Regions from separate parts of the Homo sapiens genome. Here regions 1, 3, 4, 5 and 6 are each linked to region 2. The links are contacts of gene promoters, found by promoter capture Hi-C in blood cells and fetal thymus (Javierre and others, 2016). All regions are on one chromosome and are shown on one strand. Each heading gives the region's core, a stretch centred on a gene start or on the middle of the fragment in contact. The rest is flanking DNA. Distances are from core to core; before and after follow the strand shown. Region 1 overlaps SS18L2 (SS18 like 2). Region 2 holds the start of EIF1B (eukaryotic translation initiation factor 1B). Region 3 holds the start of OXSR1 (oxidative stress responsive kinase 1). Region 4 overlaps VIPR1 (vasoactive intestinal peptide receptor 1). Region 5 overlaps NKTR (natural killer cell triggering receptor). Region 6 overlaps CCDC13 (coiled-coil domain containing 13).

What was found. Contacts are between HindIII fragments. The CHiCAGO score rates a contact against its expected background, and 5 or more counts as called.
Region 1: a fragment that was not itself captured here is called in contact with the fragment with the promoter of EIF1B in region 2 in 3 of 17 cell types (neutrophils, naive B cells and total B cells); the score reaches 9.3 in neutrophils.
Region 3: a contact is called between the fragment with the promoter of OXSR1 here and the fragment with the promoter of EIF1B in region 2, in 2 of 17 cell types (total B cells and naive B cells). The highest score is 7.6, in total B cells.
Region 4: a fragment that was not itself captured here is called in contact with the fragment with the promoter of EIF1B in region 2 in 1 of 17 cell types (monocytes); the score reaches 5.8 in monocytes.
Region 5: a fragment that was not itself captured here is called in contact with the fragment with the promoter of EIF1B in region 2 in 1 of 17 cell types (total B cells); the score reaches 6.9 in total B cells.
Region 6: a fragment that was not itself captured here is called in contact with the fragment with the promoter of EIF1B in region 2 in 1 of 17 cell types (monocytes); the score reaches 9.0 in monocytes.

The regions. Positions count from the first base shown.
Region 1 is chr3:42,592,014-42,595,460 of GRCh38, forward strand. It overlaps SS18L2 (SS18 like 2), which reads left to right. Exons shown (of 3, transcript NM_001370300.1): 3 at 2,409-3,447. The coding sequence ends at 2,496. It also overlaps a transcript of SEC22C not described here. Among named protein-coding and RNA genes, the nearest start is that of SS18L2, 2.9 kb to the left of the region's middle. The HindIII fragment of the contact is 2,974 bases long and covers 1-2,962 here.
Region 2 is chr3:40,307,661-40,311,242 of GRCh38, forward strand. It overlaps EIF1B (eukaryotic translation initiation factor 1B), which reads left to right and starts at 2,047. Exons shown (of 4, transcript NM_005875.3): 1 at 2,047-2,312; 2 at 3,233-3,396. The coding sequence starts at 2,282. EIF1B-AS1 (EIF1B antisense RNA 1) reads right to left here and starts at 2,038. Exons shown (of 3, transcript NR_033965.1): 1 at 1,663-2,038. LOC124906228 (a long non-coding RNA gene) reads right to left here and starts at 1,151. Exons shown (of 2, transcript XR_007095876.1): 1 at 1-1,151. RefSeq lists an enhancer at 1,778-2,137 and a silencer at 2,408-2,457. The HindIII fragment of the contact is 2,965 bases long and covers 419-3,383 here.
Region 3 is chr3:38,163,464-38,166,915 of GRCh38, forward strand. OXSR1 (oxidative stress responsive kinase 1) reads left to right here and starts at 2,074. Exons shown (of 18, transcript NM_005109.3): 1 at 2,074-2,483. The coding sequence starts at 2,414. It overlaps LOC101928234 (a long non-coding RNA gene), which reads right to left and starts at 2,013. Exons shown (of 5, transcript XR_940733.2): 1 at 1,934-2,013. RefSeq lists enhancers at 749-1,948, 1,109-1,188, 1,339-1,468, 1,739-1,838, 2,232-2,847 and silencers at 2,079-2,468, 2,519-2,568. The HindIII fragment of the contact is 1,868 bases long and covers 261-2,128 here.
Region 4 is chr3:42,508,816-42,512,005 of GRCh38, forward strand. The region is part of intron 1 of VIPR1 (vasoactive intestinal peptide receptor 1); the gene reads left to right. Among named protein-coding and RNA genes, the nearest start is that of VIPR1, 7.8 kb to the left of the region's middle. The HindIII fragment of the contact is 1,692 bases long and covers 759-2,450 here.
Region 5 is chr3:42,609,501-42,612,844 of GRCh38, forward strand. The region is part of intron 2 of NKTR (natural killer cell triggering receptor); the gene reads left to right. It overlaps ZBTB47-AS1 (ZBTB47 and NKTR antisense RNA 1), which reads right to left. Exons shown (of 3, transcript NR_125400.1): 3 at 2,810-2,867. Among named protein-coding and RNA genes, the nearest start is that of NKTR, 10 kb to the left of the region's middle. The HindIII fragment of the contact is 502 bases long and covers 1,279-1,780 here.
Region 6 is chr3:42,762,119-42,765,402 of GRCh38, forward strand. The region is part of intron 1 of CCDC13 (coiled-coil domain containing 13); the gene reads right to left. Among named protein-coding and RNA genes, the nearest start is that of CCDC13-AS2, 6.9 kb to the right of the region's middle. The HindIII fragment of the contact is 2,363 bases long and covers 542-2,904 here.

The DNA.
Region 1 (3,447 bases), core at 226-2,725, 2.3 Mb after region 2:
TTTCTAACTTCCCGTCAGTCTGTTAGTGACACACACACAAAGACAAACAAAGGATTTACAAGTTAAGTCAAAGGTAAATTGTGCATAATAATTTAATGCACTCCCTAAGTAGATACCAAAATGAGAGAAAATAGAGTCTGAGTCTCTTTTCCGAATCTAGTCCAGGTATTACGCCCATTTTTTTCTTTTCTTTTTTTTTTTCTTTTTGAGACAGTCTCCCTCTGTCACCCAGGCTGGAGTGCAGTGGTGCAATCTCGGCTCACTGCAACCTCCACCTCTGAGGTTCAAGCAATTCTCGTGCCTCAGCCTCTGAGTAGCTGGGACTACAGGCGTGTGCCACCACGCCCTGCTAATTTTTATATTTGTAGTAGAGACAGGGTTTCACCATGTTGGCCAGACTGGTCTCAAACTCCTGACCTCAGATGATCCACCCACCTCGACCTCCCAAAGTGTTGGAATTACAGGCATGAGCCACCACGGCCGACCTTATGCCCATTTCTTATAGAAAAATATATTATTTCATTGTTACTGAAGAAATGTTTCACAATCCCTACCCCCTAGAAAAATTACCTACAGTCCCTCACTGAATACCTTAATAGAATAGTAGAGATATCAGTTTTTGGGTAAATCTTTACATCTGACTCTGGCATTTGGTAATTTGATTTTTAAAAGTTTATGGTAAATACCTTCTCCTTTTTCTATATGAAAAATGGTTGCAAAACATTCCATTTGGTACAGTAATTCTCAACCCAAGGGTAAGAAAGTTATCAAAATCTCCTAGTGGGGTTTTTCAATTGCACAGGCCATGCTTTCTGAGCCCTTGTCTGATTTATTTTTTTGGGTGAAGAACTCTACCCCCCCCACCGTAAACTTATGTTGATCATGAAAATGTTTTGTCCCTTCTTGAAGTTGTTGAACAGATATTTTATAAGTACAGTTGGTCCTCTGTATCCATGGGTTCTGCATTGCATTTCAAAAATATTGGGGAGCACAAAACAATGAAAAATAGCAACACAACAATAAAAAAAATACAGTATAACAACTATTTATATGGCATTTAAGTTGTATTAGTTATTATAAGTAATCTAGAGATTATTTAAACTGTGAGCCAGGTGTGGTGGCTCATCCCTGTAATCCCAGTACTGTGGCATTACAGTGGGAGGCTGAGGCGGGCAGATCATCTGAGGTCAGGAGTTCAATACCAGCCTGGCCAACATGGCAAAACCCCATCTCTACTAAAAACTAAAAATACAAAAATTAGCCAGGCGTGGTGTGTGCCTGTAATCCCAGCTACTTGGGAGGCCGAGGCAGGAGAATTGCTTGAACCCAGGAGGTGGAGGTTGCAGTGAGCCAAGATCACGCCACTGCACTCTAGCCTGGGTGACAGAGCAAGACTCCGTCTCAATAAATAAATAAATTAAAGTATATGATATGGAAGGCTGTGTGTAGGTTATATACAAATACTATGCCATTTTTTATAAGGGACTTGAGCTCGAGCATCCTCAGATTTTGATATCTAAGGGGAGGAGGGAGGTGTCCTGGAACCAATCCTCTGTGGATACCAAGGGACAATTGTACTCCTGGTACCAGGCACTGTTTCAGACTCTGGGAAATCCATAGTAAAACAGATACCAGCTCTGCACTCACAGAGCTGACATTCTAGACTCTAGAATCTATAAGGAAATGTATAATTAGGCACATAATAATAAGTGCTTTGAATAAGAATAAAGCAGAGTAAGTGGGGGGAGGAGTGCTATTTTATACATGGTATGTCTGATAAGGTGATATTTGAGTAGAGACCTGGGGTAAGGGAGCCAGCTATGCAGTAGTAAGGCATAGTGAGATAAGTAAGACAGAGAAAGCATCAGGTGGAAAAGCCCCCTAGTAGGAGTGTGCCGGATATCTTCAAGTCACAGAAGGAGGCCACTGTGGCCAGTATTCAGTGAACAAAGGTATAGCCATAAGAGGTGAGATCAGAGGGGGACTGGAGGCCCCCATCATGTAGGGCCTTATTAGGACACAAGAACAGCTCACCTTTACCTGAATGAGATGGGAGCCTTTGGAAGGTTTTGAATAGACATATAACATGATTTTGATTTAAATTGTACAGTAATCTCTCAGGCTGTTATGTGGAGAATAAAGTAGGTGCGCAAAGATAGATCTGGGAGACTAGGTGTCTACTGCAATAGTTCAAGCAAGAAATGATAGTAGCTATGAAAGTAATCAGTAAGAATGGGTGAGAATCTGACTATATTTTCCTTAAATATGTTAAACAAGAAGGTTGATAACACTGAATCATCCAGTCAGTGGATGAGCCATTCCACTAGAGTGGGTAAATTATTTTCCAGTTTTTTGTTCATGGTCGGTAAAAACAAGCCTCTGATTTTTGCCTGTTTTTTTGCCCATAGGTACCAGCATGTGTTACATAGAAATCTCATTTATTTGGCTACCATTGCAGATGCCAGTCCAACCAGCACTTCAAAAGCAATGGAATAATCTTTCAAAAGCAATAGAATAATCTTCCATTTGGCTGTCGTGAGGAGTAATTGAATGTAATCCATCTCTTACAAAATGGAGACAGGGTCTTTACCAACTCAACTGGTTAAAACATGAATGAAACCTCTGTGGCTCTTTCGAAACGTGAAAATGTGAAGAAAGCTACTAACTTAGCTGTATTCTCATGTAAATATTTTTTAAATAATTAAGCAAATCCCTCAATAAGTTGAGCCCAGGTGTCCTCTTTCCTGAACTTGGAGCATGTTTGGATAACAAAGACATCACTGGGATGTTCAAGTCTACTTTTTAGTTTCAACCTGAAGAGGAAACTCAGTAGGTGTTGGGCAGGAATTGGTGAGATTCCTGACTTGATACCTTGCTAAATGGACATGTAACTGTGTGCTCCTTCCTATCAGTTTGTAAATGTGGTCCCCCTGACTGCTGTTTTCAGATTGCTTTGAAATAAAGCTTATTTTTCTATAAAATACTGATGTGGAGGTATAGAAGTTTTCATGTAATAAGTATTCCATTTGGTTTTCAAGAATAACTGTGAGGACTTAACCATAAAGTATATAAAAACAATACTATTATCATTGCCAACAAAATGAATAGTGATTTCTAATTATTATCTAATATCATCTGATAATAGATGATGTTTAATTTTCTTCAGTTATCAGATAGTCTTTTTGTTGATTTGTCTGAACCAGAATCCAAATAAGATTCACATGTTGTATTTTGTTGATGTTCCTTTAAGTCACTTAAAGAATACTTAATAGTTCCTTTTTTTCTTTATTTGTTGAAATAACTAGGTGTTTACCCTAGAATTCTCTCGTGTTCTACATACAGTTGTATCTCTGTAGTGTTGTTAATTATGTGCCACTATCATCCACTTTTCCTGTAAACTAGTAGATCTAGAGGCTCATGCAGACTCATGTTCTAATATTTTTAGCA
Region 2 (3,582 bases), core at 797-3,296:
TGGCTTCTTCTGAGAAATAAAGTAATATAAAATACTCATGTACATCTACTAAGAAAGAAAGGAAACAAATAGAGATGCATTATCTAGATTACAAATTATTTAGAAATTAGAGTGTTAGAGTATTAACATAGGGCACAAAATTGAACTAATAAAATTACTTTAAAGCACACTTATTTAGATATTTTGATGCTCCTTGTTTTGGAGCCAGCTCTAAACTTTACACCTCAATTTGGGATACGAAGAGTGTTTTCCATTTGAACCAGAGCTGGAAGACCACAAATGTGGTTAGATTTCTGAGAGTTAAGAATTTGATTTTTTTTTCAGGCATTAACCTACAAAAGCCTTCATTTCCACACCTGGTGCATAGAGTAATGCTTACCTTATAAAATAGCTATGAAGATTAATAATGTTATATATAAGCTTTGTAACAGGCAAACAGTAAGTACTAAATAAATGGCACTTATCATCATTGTTAATTACAAAAGATTGTCAAATCCAGGTATTCTTAACCTGCGGTCTGCAGATCCTTGGCTCATGGATAAAACTGCAGGGGTGGAGATCCCTAAAATTGGATGGGGAAAGATTATATCTGCATTTTCATTAACCTCTAAGCAAAATTTACCATTTCTTTCCATTATGAATAAAGGCAACATCATAGTGATAGAAGGACCTGTCACTTCGCACCAACAGAAGTTACACATACTTTCATATTAAATTTCTGATGTTACGGACATCACAAAATATCTCTTACATTTATCAGCTTTTTGAAATTATAGTATTAGACCTAATCTTGCTAGATCTTATTAGTGTATTAATAAAGAAATACACGTTATTAATGTATTTTTTAAATTTCAATATAATTGGTTTCCTTTGTAATCCTATGTACTTTGTGAACTTAAAACTTAACTTCTCATTATTCTGAGAAGGGATTCAGCAGCTTCACAGGATTGCCATGGCACACACAAAAAAGTTAAGAATCCCTAAATTTTAGTCTATCTCTTTGCTTCCAGAAAGCCAACCAAGTTTGACAATTGAACACACCTGCCTGAGTGAGCCAATTCCCAAAGTCTCGGGTTTATTTTTCTGTGCGTGACCTGATAGGAAGATATTACGGTCTGGTACATGACTCCATCAATTAACCTATTTGCTGAGCTCACCTTCAGCTTATACCTGGCATCTTTCCTGAATTCTCTGTTGGGCCTTCTGAGGCACACAAAATGAGCTGACAAGCTGATTTTCTGGTATCTTCTGTTCATACACACCTGGCCCCCACTCGATGCCAGGCCCAGGATTAAGCTGGGCAGTGATTCTCAAGCCTGATCCCAGACCAGCAGGCAGGATCAGCATCACCAAGGAGCTTATGAGAATTGCAGATTTTCAGGTCACACCCTAGACTTCCTGAAACAGAAACTCTGGGGTCTATCAGTGTTTTCTCAAGCCCTCCAGAGACACACGCTTTAGTCTGAGATCCACCGTGCTAGGGAATCGGAGGTCCGTCCAATCCTGGAAAGAGAGGCTCCCATCTCCAGTATTGGTTGAGACTAACACCGCTCCTGCAACTGGGGTTGGAATTTCAATGCAGGTAGTTGCTGAGCGGGGGCCAATGAGTTGAAAGCCGGAGCAAGGGGACTTGTTTTGTTCCTGCACCCCGATTTTACTTACATTACCCGGGGCCTCGAGGGTGACTCATAGAGATTAGCCCTGAGCGTCGACCCCTCGGCGCCGCCACTGCACAGCGAGAGAAGGGGAGTCAAGAGAGACGCTTGAGTCCCTTGACTGTCCTCCCCTACGAGCTCTCTGGGAAGAGAGCCCCAGACCTGCGAACTCTGGGCCGCTCTGCGGCCGCTTGAACACTTCGCGGGTCTTCCGCCCCGCGCTAGAGGACGCACTCCGTGACGGGAATTGCGGTCTCGGCCGCCCCCGGCCTCAGGCTTTCCGGGCTCTGCTGCCTCCAGAAAACTACAAGTCCCAGGATGCTCGGCGCGGGACGGTCACGTGGGAGGGGCCGCGGGCGCGGCTAAATAGTCTCCATCGGCCATTTTGTGCGAGAAGCCGCAGCGCCGCCTCTTCTCTCGCGCCCTCGCCTCTTCCTCCGCCTCCTCCTTCGCCTCTTCCTGCCTCCTCCCGGCTTCCGCCGCCGCCACTCCAGCCTAATCCCAACCCCAGGGCGAAGCGTTTTCTTATTTATTTCCGTTTTCTCGCCACTACAGCCTCCTGACAAGGTGATCCGGGCGGGCCCCGCAGGAATTTTATCCCCTCACCGGCCTCACACTAGTATCGCATGTCCACTATCCAGAACCTCCAATCTTTCGGTAAGATCCCGTCGCCGCCGCCTCCCTCCCTTGCCCGGCGCGCATCTCGGCCTTTTGCCCGCCTGGCCACCGCCCCTAGGGGCCCCCTTTCTGCCCTTCCCGCACCCCTAGTGGGGCTTTGTCTCGGCGCCCAGAAAATGGCGACGGGGCCCCTGGCGACCCCTTCCCCGAGGACAGCGCCGGACTCCGAGCCCTCCTCTCGGAGCCCCGGCCGCGGGCCCTGCGCCACCCCCTGCCCCGTCCTTGACCCGGCTCTCGCCTCCGCTTCTGCCCCTTGAAACCTTGGCGATCCTATTTCGTGGACTCCTAGATCGGCCCTGCTACTTGCAAAGGGTATGCCGGGCCAGGGAAACCAGGGATCGGCGCCCGTTCTCTGGCAGCTCCTGGGGGCACTTAGGGAAAGATGCGGATGCAAGCCTCTGATCTGTCACTGGCCAGTGGTTCAGTCTTCTCTGCTTGCGTAGCAATTTGTTAAATTACGCCTCTTGATATATATGTAATCTACTTTTTTTTTGGCAAGGCACAGTTACGGTTAAATGATTAAGGTGGGCGTATTCGAATGTTTATGTTTTCATCAGAATGTAATCGAGATGACGCACATTTTTATAGCGGCTACAATATTAAGGTTTTCTAAATCTTTTTCTCATTAGAGGACCATATTGAACGATAACATTATTTATCTATAACAGCGTTTTTCTACAATGGACATAGCTGTTCAAATGTTTCTCTTTTTGTGAGAGTATCTTGGGGGTTTTATTAATACTCCACCCCCATCTCCATTCCTACCGGCAAAAACAGCAAAGGCACTAGAACCTTCATTGATGACTGTCTGGATTGGTAGTATAATGTATTTCTGGAAAGTACTTCTTAAAAAATATTTTTCTACTTTGGATTTTTTTTTTTTTTTTATCCATTCGCAGACCCCTTTGCTGATGCAACTAAGGGTGACGACTTACTCCCGGCAGGGACTGAGGATTACATTCATATAAGAATCCAGCAACGGAACGGCAGAAAGACACTGACTACTGTTCAGGGCATTGCAGATGATTATGACAAAAAGAAACTTGTGAAAGCTTTCAAAAAGGTAAAGGGATTAGGAAGAAAGGATTAGAGTTACTGATGCACACCTCTGAACTGGATTATGATTCACACCTTTATATCGGCGTGGATGAAAATAACTAGACCAAGAAAGTTGTTCTCATTTTTGTAATTAACATGTAAATATTTAGTTATTCTCCCAGTGTGGTCTCTCATTTTAAAAGAAGATTCG
Region 3 (3,452 bases), core at 824-3,323, 2.1 Mb before region 2:
TATATATAATACATATTTCATAAACTTATGAAATACATACTGGGGACCTAAACTTCCTGGCGTGAGCCACCGCGCCCAGCCAAGCATTCTTAAAGATAGGGGTAATTTCGGAAAAGAAGAAGTTACAGGTAAAGTCATAAATCAATACACAGAGGTTATACATTGGTTTGACCTAAAAAGGGGGGACATCTCCAAGCAGGAGCCCACAGGTCATAGGTGGATTCAAAGATTTTCTGATTTGCGATTGATAAAAGAGGTGAAGCTTTGTCTAAAAATTTCGGATCAGTAGAAAAGAATGTTAGCTACAGCTTGTGGGCATGACCTTCTTCAGGAAGAAGAAACTTAGAGAAAAAACAAACCACCAGTCAGAGTTCAGTCCTTAGCTCCCCATTCTCTGAGGTCTATGTGCCAGCAGATCCATTTGGTGGGGGTCTGGGTTTCTAAAAAACAACTCAGGGACATGTGTTGATGTTATCTTTAGTTTTTATAGGGAACCAAACATCCAGTTATTTTAGTTTCTTTGGCTAATGTTTAAAGTTATTACTGCCCTCTTGCTTATCAAGGGGTTCATTAACTTTTCAAGGCTAGCTAAGTGCCGGGAATTTCTCTTGAAGTAACTCAAGATTTTCCTTTATTTCCATGGTTGAGGGCCTGCAGGCCCTAAAAGGGGTCCCTGCTCCGTCTCAGCTGGGCCTAGGTGAAGGTCTCTTCCTTTTTCTGAGACGGTGTCTCCGTCTGTTGCCCAGACTGGAGTGCAGTGGCATGCTCTCGGGTCACTGCAACCTTCGCCTCCTGCTTCAGCCTCCCTAGTAGCTGGGATTACAGGCGCCAGCCACCACGCCCAGCGATTTTTCTGTATTTTAGTAGAGAGGGAGTTTCACCATGTTGGTCAGGATGGTCTCGAACTCCTGACCTCAGGTGGTCCGCCCGCCTCCGCCTCCCAAAGTGTTGGGATTACAGGCGTGAGCCACCGCACCCGGCCTAAGGTCTCTTCCTTAAAGACTGCCGTTGGACTGAAAGGTGTCCAACCTAGAACAGTTTCGCACCTAGCCCTATCCCTGTTGGATGCTCATTATTTTTTAAAATCCAATTTACCAAGCGTGTTCAGTCTTCAGCTCGCTAATTTCTCTAACGGCCGTACGTAGTCAAACTGAGAAAACTGTTCAGTGGGGGCGACAAAAGCCAACGCCCGTGAGACAACCCCCAAATCCGTGGGTCGATCTCACTTGTTTAATACCCCAAGCCCTGTCCGGGGGGAAGAAAGACAACCTCCCGAGTCCCTCAAGGCAGGTGCTTATTTGAGCTTCAGATCTAAAGCTGCGAATGGACAGAACCCGCCCAGTGCAGGGTGGACCCGCGAGAGACAGCGCCGCGACAAGCGTTAGAGAGAACGTCCGCCTTGAAAAAAATGTCACCAGGCAAACTTCCAGTTTCACTCCGACCAGTGGCCCAAGGCCTTTTATCCTAGTTGGCAGTGGTCCACACCCAAAGGCTACCCCACCCAGCCGCTCCCTCAGGGTTTCTCCACACCCTGTAGAGCCTTTCGCACGTCTCGAGGGTGTGACGGTTACGCCGTGACGTCACTCCAGAGGAAGTGGTAAGACGAGCGCGGTAACGGAGCTCTTGAAGGGCTGCAGCCCTAACACGGAGAAGCGCGCTAAGAGCCTGGAGGCGGGACCAATTTATGACTGACGTCTACCCACACCCATTGCTTTTCTGATTCCTTCTCAAACAAACCAATGAATGCGACGACGGAGACAGCAGCGTGCCCCAGGCGCTAGAAGTGGCTCTGCCCCTTCTACTTTGCTGCCCTTTGGTCGCCATGCTTAGTGTGGCTACTGCCTCTGTGCTACTTGAGGCTCTCCTACGGCTTTTCGATGCCTTCGATGAACCTCTACCTAAGCACTTCTTCCCTTTCACCGCGAACTCCTACCTTCTCGGGTTTCTAGCTTGCTCACTTTACATCCAGCCACACTGGAGATGGCGGCCGGAGGCGGGCCCGAGGTGGGGCGTGACCAGCGCAGTGACGTCAGCGCGCTGCGTGTCGGCAGGTGGAGGAAGAGGGGAAAGTTTGGCCCGTGCGTGGGGCTGGGGTGGAGGGCGGGACAGAGGGGCTGGGCCCAGGCAAAGCTTCTGTCGCTGCTGCTGCGGAGGCCGAGGACAGGACGTGGGCTGGGCCGGGCAGTGCCGGACTCGGAGGAGCAGGAGGCGAGGTCCGCCGGAGCTCTGAGCCCCCGCTGCTCTGCCGCGCGGTGACCCCGCGCCCCGGCGCCGTCCGACCCGTGGCTGTTCCGAGACGATTGGTGGGGGCGCGGCGGCGGCGGCGGCGGCTGTTGGGGGTGGGGAGACGCGCGGCGAGGAGACGAGCGAGGTCAGCGAGTTTGAGGGAGGACCGCGAGCCGCTGCCGCCGTCATGTCCGAGGACTCGAGCGCCCTGCCCTGGTCCATCAACAGGGACGATTACGAGCTGCAGGAGGTGATCGGTGAGAGCAGGCGCTGCGGAGGGGGGAGGCGCGGCGCTGGGAGGCGGGGGACACGGGAACGTGGGGAGCCGCGGGAGCTCGGGGAGCGCAGCCCTCATAGGAATTCGTGGGGCGCTTGTGGGGCTGGGGGCTTGTAGGACGCTTGTGTCGAGGAGCGCGTGTGAGACGGGAAGGGGGTTTTGAGGCGCGCGCCTGTGAGGTGGCGTGGGGTGGGGTGAGGCTTGAGGGGGCTCAGGAGAGATTTGTGTACAGGATTCTCAAATGTGTGGACAGGAGCGGCCCATGTGTCTTGTAGAGAAAGAAAGTGCAGGTGTGGGACAGGCCTTTCCGAGGCTGTGTGAGAAATGGGATCTTGAAGTGGGCACAGCCATCGATTTCTGGGATTGTGGGATAGATAGGGAGCTTTAAGTTTTTCCTCCATCCGTGCTGGGGCGAACTGGGGATCCTCCAGGTGAAGCTGCAGGAACCGCGCTGAGCAACCGAGACCCAACTTACGACTCCTTCCAACTGACTTTCCAGTCGGGGAGGTAGACATTAAATAAGAAGACAAAAAGAAGTAAGAAGGGCTGGGCGTGGTGGCTCACGCCTGTAATCCCACCACTTTGGGAGGCCGAGGCGGGCGGATCACGAGGTCGGGGGTTCGAGACCAGCCTGGCCAATATGGTGAAACCCCGTCTCTACTAAAAATACAAAAATTAGTTGGGTGTGGTGGTGCGCGCCTGTAATCCCAGCTACTCGGGAGGCTGAGGCAGAAGAATCCTTGAACCCGGGAGGCGGAGCTTGCAGTGAGCTGAGATCGCGCCACTGCACTCCAGCCTGGGCGACAAACCCTGACTCTGACTCAAAAAAAAAAAAAAAAAAAAAAAAATTTGAAGAGGCTTTGGCAAGTGCCATGAAGGAGATAAACAAGATGTTCTGATAGAGAATAACCTGGAGATCTACTTAGGGTGATTTCAAGGAAAATTCTTT
Region 4 (3,190 bases), core at 355-2,854, 2.2 Mb after region 2:
AAAAGCCAGCAAGGATGGGAAGGTGAGCTGCTGTCCTGTGTGCCTGTGATCACACTGCTTTCTCTCTGGCTCCTCCATTCCCCCTGTGTCTCTTTTTTACCCCATGATTTCAGCAGGGGGCTGGCAGAGTAGAGTAAATAAGTCGTGAGATATGAGATGGTTTCTGTAAAGGGCTAGGGTCATGTGGGAGAGGGTAAATGAAACCACTCCTGAGCCCCCTGTCCTCTACTCCCCATTCCCCTGCCTCCATTAACAGTTGCAGGCTGGAAAAAAATAAAATAGCCCTCTTGACAAACCTCAGAAGCACAAATCATCCATGGAGGCTCTGCATGCTTGGCAATTTGCAGACAGTTCTTTCTCCTGCCTCACCTTATCCAGCCTGCTGCATTCTGTGCTCCTCTCAGAGACCAGCTTCTCCTCGGAGGGACTCATGCTTCCTGCTGTGCTACTTGGCTCCTCCTGCCCTAGTTCTCTGGCCCCAGATGATGAGGCTGGGGCTTCTGATTCGAGGCAGTAGCTGTGGTCTCAGGCTTCCCTTGAGGGGATTGAACATGGCCTACGAACCTGAGCATGGCCCACCCTGTCTTTCAGAGCCCCTTGCATCTAACAGCTACAACTCCCAGCATCTTCACCCATACCCCCATCACCACACCTAGCCTTTGCTCCAGATCTCAGAGAACCCCACATGGACAGGAAAAAGCAGGGCTTTCTCTCTAGCCCCTCACCAATTCCTATGCTTGACTGAGCTCCAAAAAGTAAGCTTAAAGGCAGCCTGACCCTGCCGTTGAGCTGAGGCTAGAGAGTTTTGGTCCAGGCTGGGCTCTCAGCACCTTCTTTGGGGCAGGAGTTCCTAAGCCCAGAAGGGACCCAGGCTGAAGAAGACTGAAGAAGTCCACAGCATCTTCTCCATCCTGGTCTTCTTCTGTCCTCTGCCATGGGGCTAGCGGGATGTGGGAGGTGAATGACAGGGAGTTGGCAGGAGAATCCTGAGTCTAGTTGGAGACAGGGACTAACCAAGTCTTGTTCATTCCACCTGCCCCCTCCTCTCTGTGCCCTCTCTTTATACCCACTGTCCTGCCCAGGCTTCATCAGTTCCTGCCTGGACTGGTGCAGTAGCTTTCAGCCCCACCACCTGCAACCTGAGGGATCTTTGTAAAATGTGTATCCCCCATCCTCAGTCTCCTGCTTCAAGTCTCTGTTGGCCCCCATGGCCTAGGAGTGAAAGCTCACACTTGAAAACTGGCATTCCAGGCCCTTCCCAATCCTACCCCAGTCTACATCTCTCAACTTGTCTCCTGATGCCCCCAGAACTCCTTGCTGCAGCTACACCAGGCTTCTCACAGCCTTGCATGTATTAGGCATTTTCATGCCTCCATGCCTGTGCACACGCTGCTCTACTTTCTGGGGTGCTCTTACTCCACTTCTAATTGTCTAACTTGCACATCCTCCATGACCTACCTCTACAGAATGAGTACAGCATACCCATTCTGTAGGAAGCCCAGACTCCAGCTATATCCCACCCTGGAACACTTCCCTGACATCAGTAGACTTGGCTATATTCAGCCAGGGAATTTTTCAACTCTCTCTGTGTTCCTGAAGTCCAGAGGGATAATGAGGATGTTTAGAATAGGGAAATAAATAAGTGGGAGAGGAAGTCCAAAGTCTGCCTGAATTCCTTAGTGATAAGGACTAGAGGGAGCTGCCCTGGCCCGGTCCCTCAAAGGGCAATGGTTGACCAGAGGGTCCAAGGCGAGGCTGTGTTGAAGGATTGATGCAGTCCAGACCAGCGGTCAGAGACTTAGGTCCCATCTGGGAATGCGCATTTGCTGGGTGACCTCAGGTCCCTCTTTGGGTCTCCATTTCCTCTACCCCTCCCCAGATAGGGCTCAACACTAAACTAAATTGTGACAAAGAGAGAGCTCATCTTCCAGACCACACCCACTGTTTCATAAACACCACAGGCTTCGGTACCCACCCCTCCTTTCTCTCCAAACTGCCTCTAAGGAAGGGCTGTGTGTCTGTGCTGCTGAGGGGGCAGAGTTGGCTGGAGAAGTTGACCCAACACTCTTCTACCCTCAGAGAGTCGCAAGCAGAAGCTGCCAGAAATCCTAGGCGCCCATGGTGATTGGGAAACAAATATTTCTTGGCAAACTATATGGCCACAGTCCTGGCTTAAGAAGGCCCAGAAAGTGAGGGCGTCCATTATCTTGTCCTCAGAGGGCAAGGCTGGACACTTTTGTTTACAGCGACCAACAGAAAACTCAACTGATCCAAGCCATAAAGGAAAGGCATCAGCTCATGTTGCTAGCAGTAGAGCTGGTTTCAGGCATGGCTGCATTCACAGACCCAGACAATATTAAGAGAACCTGATTTTTCTCCATCTCTCTATTCTGCCTTCAGCTGTATAGTTTTTATCCGTGTGTTCCACTTGTCAACAAGAAGACAGCAGAAGCTTGAGCCCTTGCTTCCTTTAAGGTTTCCAGTCCAGTGGGGAAAAACCAAATTCACTTTCTTAATCACTTAATCCAAAGTCCCAGGAGTGAGCCTCCTGGCTCTGAGTAGCCTGACTCAGGCCATGTGTCAGGCACTGTGGCCAGGAATGCTCTGATGGACTTAAGCCTTGGTCACATGTCAATCCCCTGGAAGAGGGTTCATCAGAACTCCATGAACTAGAGGTAGGGAAGGAGGTTGTTTCCCAGACACAGATGAGGACATGGCACCAGAAGAGAGTAAAGGATGGTGGAAGGCAGAAACAAGAGATATCTGCTACCATCCATCCTGTTTTGACGTTACAGTGTTATGAGAGATAAGAATGGACAGGAGAATCAGGAGACGCTGGGAAGGGGCCAGAAAGCAGAAAGAACCCTGTTGCTGGTGGGAGATGGGGTTGGGATGGTACCTTGGTGAGAAATGTGCTCCAAGACAGGCAAGACAGACCAATGATGGGACACAAGGCAGGGTAGCCAGTACCCAGATTCCTCTTCCAGAAGCCACCTCTGAGATCTTCCTGGCCACTATTCCCCCTATACTTGAGGATGAAACAGCCACAAATCCCTTGAGACAGAGTGTCTTGAGCATTTCAGCCTGAGTAACCCTTATGGGAAGGAGAGAAAGCACATGACCCCAAAGAGGAACCACAGACAGTTTCCTTGAAGTCTCCTATCTTTTAACAGTTATACGAGTAACTGTA
Region 5 (3,344 bases), core at 280-2,779, 2.3 Mb after region 2:
TTTGAAAATTTCAAAACAAAAGTTCAAGAAGGGGAATTGCACATTTATTCTTTCAGACAACCTTCAGGATCATTTTGTCAAGTTCCCTCAGAAATCTCACTGGTATTTTTGAAGGTTGCAATTAAGTTATTATAGGTTACTCTAGGGAATATTGGGCACATTTGCAATTTTGAGTCTTGTCTAAGAACAAGGTATCTCTCCCTTTATTCATGTTGGCATTATGCCTCTCAAAGTTGGAGTTTTGTTTTTATAGATCCTATACTCTTATGGTTATGTAGGTAGAATGTTTCTTGTTGTTTTTGAGAATGTGATTTTTACTGTATTTTGTTCTACTAGTTCTTGTTTGTCATAATATAAATATCAACAACTTCAGTATCTGTTGGTATTTCAGTTGGTTCTTTTGGGCTTTCTAGGTGTATAGCTAATGTTTCAAATGGTGATAAATATGCTCTTTTTTACTTGTAAATCTCTCCTATTGTCCTCTTATCTACTTACATTGACTAGAATTTCCTTTTTTTTTGAGACAGAGTTTCGCTCTTGTTGCCCAGGCTGGAGTGCAAAATGGTGCAATCTCGGCTCACTGCAACCTCTGCCTCCTGCGTTCAAGCGATTCTCCTGCCTCAGCCTCCCGAGTAGCTGGGATTACAGGAGTGAGCCACCACACCCGCTAATTTTGTATTTTTAGTAGAGACGGGGTTTCTCCATGTTGGTCAGGCTGGTCTCGAACTCCCGACCTCAGGTGATCCGCGCCCCCCACCGCCTCCCAAAGTGCTGGGATTATAGGCGTGAGCTACCACGCCTAGCCTACATTGACTAGAATTTCTGAAAGAGCATTAAACAGTAGTGATGCTAACAACTACTTTTGACTTGTTTCCTGCTTCACTGGAATTAATGCTACAGGAGTGTTTCACCATTAACGATAATGCTGATTGTTGATTTGAAAAATATCTGAGAATATGTGTGTCATATAAAGGAATGAATGTTGAATTTCTTTTTTTTAATTTATATTTTTCTTTTTTAAAATTTATTTTGTTGTTTCTGTAGTAGATATGAATGTTGAATTTCACCGTGCACTTTTGGTTTCTATCGTGGGATTTTTTTTTTCTATCATGGGATTTTTATAGGATTTTTCCTTCACTTCAATAAACTATATTAGTAGATTTCCTAATGTTGAATAGTGTCTCTTTTAAAATGAGATTGGCATATGGGGTTTTAAATTTGTTTTATATCATCTCTCCCAGGCTTTGGTTTCGATTTTATTTTGTTTCAAAAAAATTAAGCTTTTCATCTTTTGCTGTGCTCTAGAACAGTTGATATAGTGTTACACTTTAATGTTACTTGAAGATTAGAAGTAATTCATCTATATCTAAAGAATTAATAGCAGCACTCTTTTGGATAGTTAGCAGCATTTTAGTTTCTTTATTGGGCCTGTTTTTTATCTGTATACTATCTTATAATTCTTTTTTCTAAATTTTGGTATTCTTCCTTTTATCTTCCTAAGTGATTAATTTATCTTTAGTTTTATTCATTAATGAAAATATTTATGACTATATGCAGTGATCAGGATAAATAAGTGGTATTTAACACTTTTTGCATTGTCAGACCTGGCAGCTCTAACATCTGACCTCATTTCCTGACATCCTGGCCCTTTGATTCTCTGATCTGCACTAATATCCTCATCATAACTACATGAGCCAGTAAATATGTTCTCTTTTGAGTTTTTGCTTGTACTATCTGCAGGAAACCTTTAGCTGGGTGTTTATGGACATGTCATGGAAAAAGCTTCATGTGGCTAAATAATTAAGTTGTTTCGGCCTTATATTTTATGTTTTTCTGGCTATTTCCTTTGTTTTATATCTTTTACTAGGTTGCTGCCCCTCCCACCAAAGAAGCTTGAAAGATGTAAAATATTGTTAGTTCTACTTGTGAATACCTGTTTAAGTATGCTTAAACCCTTGGCTGGGCATGGTGGCCTGTAATCCCAGCACTCTGGGAGGTCGAGGCGGGCAAATCACAAGGTTAGGAGTTCAAGACAAGCCTGGCCAACATGGTGAAACCCCATCTCTACTAAAAATACAAAAAATTAGCTGGGCATAGTGGTAGGTGTCTATAATCCTAGCTACTCGGGAGGCTGAGGCAGGAGAATTGCTTGAACCCAGGAGGCGGAGATTGCAGTGAGCCAAGATCGTGCCACTGCACTCCAGCCTGGGTGACAGAGTGAGACTCTGTCTCAAAAAAAAAAAAAAAAATGTATGCCTAAACCCTTATTTCCTCTCTGCTTCAGAAAAGTCTACCTATTGATTCCCACTATGAAGTATGAGGATGCGTATTTTCTTTCACCAGTCCAAATCCTTGTTGGTTTTTATTGATTCTCCACTGCCTTCCTCCAACTGAAATTATTTTTACCCTGGGCAACATAGTGAGACCTTGTCTCAACAAAAAATACAAAAATTAGCCAAGCATGGTGGCATGCTCCTATGTTCCCATCTATTCAGGAGGCTGAGGCAGGAGGATTGCTTGAGCCCAAGAGGTTGAGGATGCAGTGAGCAGAGGTTGTGCCGTTGCACTACAACCTGGGGAACAGAGCGAGACTCTGTCTCTTAAAAAATAAAATACATTATTTTTATATCACAGGCATGAGAAAAGTTCATGATATGTTAGTAGAGCAAGGTGCAGTACAGTGTGCATAATCTACCATTTTTTAAAGGAAGAAAAATAAGAATTTATCAATATTTGCTTGTGTATGAAAAGAAACTGGAAAAATACACAGAAAATTAATGAAAGTGAGTACCTGTTGATAGGGTTGGGAAACAAGGCTTCTCATCCTGTACCTTTTTCCACTGATTTTTGAGTCATGAGAACATTTCCTATTCAAAAGAAAGAACATTTTCAGATGGTACATAAAAAAAATTTTGCCATTACATAACTTTGTTTCCTAATACTGATAACATTTAAAACCATAATTAACACTGTTTGCATTGTCATACCTGGCAGCTCTAACATCCGGCCTCATTTCCTTTTATTTTAAAACCATAATTATAGTGATTTAGGTTTAATTTTGTAATGTAATATATTCAGTGCCCAATGCCACTCTTCCTACTAGTTCTCATTCATTAATTTTTTGACTTATATCTCAGGGATATGTATTCAAATAGATATTTCAGGATAAAATGTATTTCCTTTGCTAGGTATAGAATTCTTGTTTCACAGCCTATTCCTTAAAAATGGTAGACTGTGCTCAGTTGTCTCCAGTTTGTAATATAAGGTGTCTGAAGCTGGTCTTCTTTCTTTTTTCTTTGTGAACGATATGATTCTACTGCCTGGATACTAGGAGGCTTTTTTTT
Region 6 (3,284 bases), core at 473-2,972, 2.5 Mb after region 2:
GAGACCAAGCATGGGATGGTTTAACTGCTGCCCAGCTGGTTTTAATGTGCTGTGGGCTGAGCCCAGGGTTTGGCAAAGGTCAAACAAAAGCAGAAGCTGGTGTTATGTTGAAATTCCTTACCAGGCAGCTCTGCCCAGTAAGAGGAACTATAAAGAATTAACTCTGAAAACCTGTATTGTGCACACCCGCACATTCCAAAAAACATGTTTGGCCTTTGACCCGCTCCTAAGAGAGAATCTCTGAGCCCTTGGACCATCCTTCCTGATGAGAGTGTTTTTCTTCACCTGGGGACCTTGGGCCATTCCAGTCCATGTTAATTAACAATGTGATTCATTGCCAGGTGCAGGGTAGGCTGGAGGGGGCTGGAGATCGAGTGACTAAGGTCAACTGTACCTACGTAACCATCTCCTAATAAAAACCCTGGACACCAAGACTCAGGGGAGCTTCCCTGGCTGGCAGTACTCCATGTAAGTTGCCACGAATTGTTTCTGGGAGAAGTAAGTACTGTCAACATGACTCCACTGGGAGAAGACAACTGGAAGCTTGCACCTGGTGTCTCCTGGACTCTGCCCTATGTGTCTCTTTGCTGATTTTGACCCGTATTCTTTCATTGTAATAAACAATACATGTGAGTATAATAGCTGGCCCAAAGGCTATATCCTTTGTTAAAAGATAAACGTTAGGCCAGGCATGATGGCTCACACCTGTAATCCCAGCACTTTGGAAGGCCAAGGTGGAAGCACAGCTTGAGCCCAGGAGGTTGAGACTACAATGAGCTGTGATCGCGCCACTGCACTCTAACCTGGGTGACAGTCAGACCCTGTCTCCAAAATAAAAAAAGAAAAACTTTAAACAAATCAAATTTAACAGAATTCAACTGAGCAAAGAATGATTCACAAATCTAGCAGCCCCCAGAACCAGAACAGATTCAGAGTGACTCCAGGGCTGCCACCTAGTCGAAAAAGATTTATGAACAGAAAAAGGAAAGTGATGAACAGAAAGCACAAGTGAGGTACAGAAACAGCTAGACTGATTACAGCTGGCTGTTTGCCTTTTTTGAATACAATTTGAATAGCTGGCTGCCTGTGATTGGCTGAAACTCTGTGACTGGTACAAGAGTAGATTGCAGTCTGTTTAAATTCCTAGTCAGGTTACAGTTTACTACGTACAGAGAAACCTTTAGGCTGAACTTAGAATATATAAGAAGGCAGCTTTAGGCTACAGTTAGTTTAACACATCCCACAGACATTTTTGTTTGGCTCTTACAGAACACTATGTTAGGATTTGAATTTGTTGCCAACATTCAAAGAATTGTAGTTTCAATATCAGATTTCCAGTGTCAACAAAAACAGTCAAACTCTGTAAAATATTTGAAGAGATGTACTTTTTTTTTTTTTTTTTTTTAGATGAAGTCTCGCTCTGTCACCCAGGCTGGAGCGCAGTGGCACAATCTTGGCTCACTGCAACCTCTGCCTCCTGGGCTCAAGCAATTCTCCTGCCTCAGCCTTCTGAGTTGCTGGGACTACAGGCATGCACCACCACACCCAGATAATTTTTGTATGTTTTTGTAGAGACATGGTTTCACCATGTTGGCCAGGCTGGTCTTGAACTCCTGATCTCAAGTGATCCACCCACCTCAGCCTCCCAAAGTGCTGGGATCACAGGTGTGAGCCACTGCACCCAGTCTGAAGAGATTTATTCTGAGCCAAATGTGAGTGATCATGGCCTGTGACACAGCCCTCAGGAGATCCTGAGACCACGTGCCCAAGGTGGTCAGGGCACAGCTTGGTTTTATACATTTCAGGCAGACCTGAGACATCAATCAAATACATTTAAGATATATACCGATTTGGTCCAGAAAAGCAGGACAACTCCAAGGTTGGGAGGGGGGAGCTTCCAGGTGATAAGTAGATTTAAAATTTTTCTGATTGGTAATTGGTTAAAAGAGTTACTATAAATAGAAAGGAATATCTGGGTTAGAATAAAAGAGATAAAAGTTTTGATCATGCAAATGAAGCCTCCAGGTAGCAGGCTTCAGAGAGAATAGATTGTAAATGTTTCTTATCAGACTTAAGGTCTGTGTTGATGTTAAATGTTGGTCAACTTTTCCTGAATTCCAAAAGGGAGGAGGGTATAATGAGGCGTGTCCAACCCTTGCTTCCCATCAAGGCCTGAACTGGTCTTTCAGGTTAACTTTGGAGTGCCCTGGCTGAGAAGGAAGTCCATTCAGATGGATGGGGGGCCTCTGAATTTTATGTTTAGTTTACACCAGCTTCTTTTATAAAAGTTTACAGATCTGGCAATGCTGGGCCCATCGTCCCACACGGACAGCAGCTGCTATGCAGAGAGTTCCTTTGGTGCATAATAGGTTCTTTCCATTAAACCACTGTCCCTGCCACCTCCAGATGCTGCAGCTGGCACATCAGCTGCCCATTATCACTGCACATAAATGTTGTTCTTTCTCTTAAACCTGCTGGATTCACTTTTATTTCCCATCAGCCACAGCAGATGTTTTGGGTTTGTGGCTCCTGCTGTGGATTAAGCCCAGTGGCATCTCAGAGGCTGGCTTCAGCCACTCCTCTACCTGGGAGGCCTTCCTCCCAGGCCTCCCCATCCCAGCCCTTTACCTTCCCACTAACTCCCAGTTAGCCTCTAGGATTCCCCTCAGGGCACTCTGTGGACTCCCAGAATCCCTAGGGCACCCCTTGATCACTAAACTTAACCTCAGTGTATTATAATTATCTATTATTTTATTTACATTACTTCCCTTTACAAAGAGACCTCTTAAGGGCAGGGGTCCTAATACCTTATTCATTTGCTAAATCTCAACATCTTGCCCAGAACAGGCCTTCAACTGTCATTTGTAGAATTGTCACTGAATGAATGAACACAGTAACTTGTAAAGCTTTTCTCCTTTTCTACTCCCAATTTGCACTTGAAGTCACTGAGGAACTGGTACTCATTGAATGTACACTGTGCCCCAGGCAAATTACTTAACCTCTTTGCTTTCGTTTCCCATTTGTAAAATGGGACTCTGATACTTACGAACTTCACAGGGAGTTTGTGAGATTAAGTGGAAGAATGCATGGAAATAATTATCATTATCACTGTATGAAAAGTGGTGCTCTTGGCCCAACGGAGCCTCTGGGATAGACAGTAATGCCTGCACTGAGAGGACACCTGTGGTCCAGACCGGCCCCCAGAGTATTAGTATCTAATCTGTGCTATTCATGAGGCCAGTGGAGATTTGAAATTAATTATCTGGGCTGTGGCCAGGGTGTCT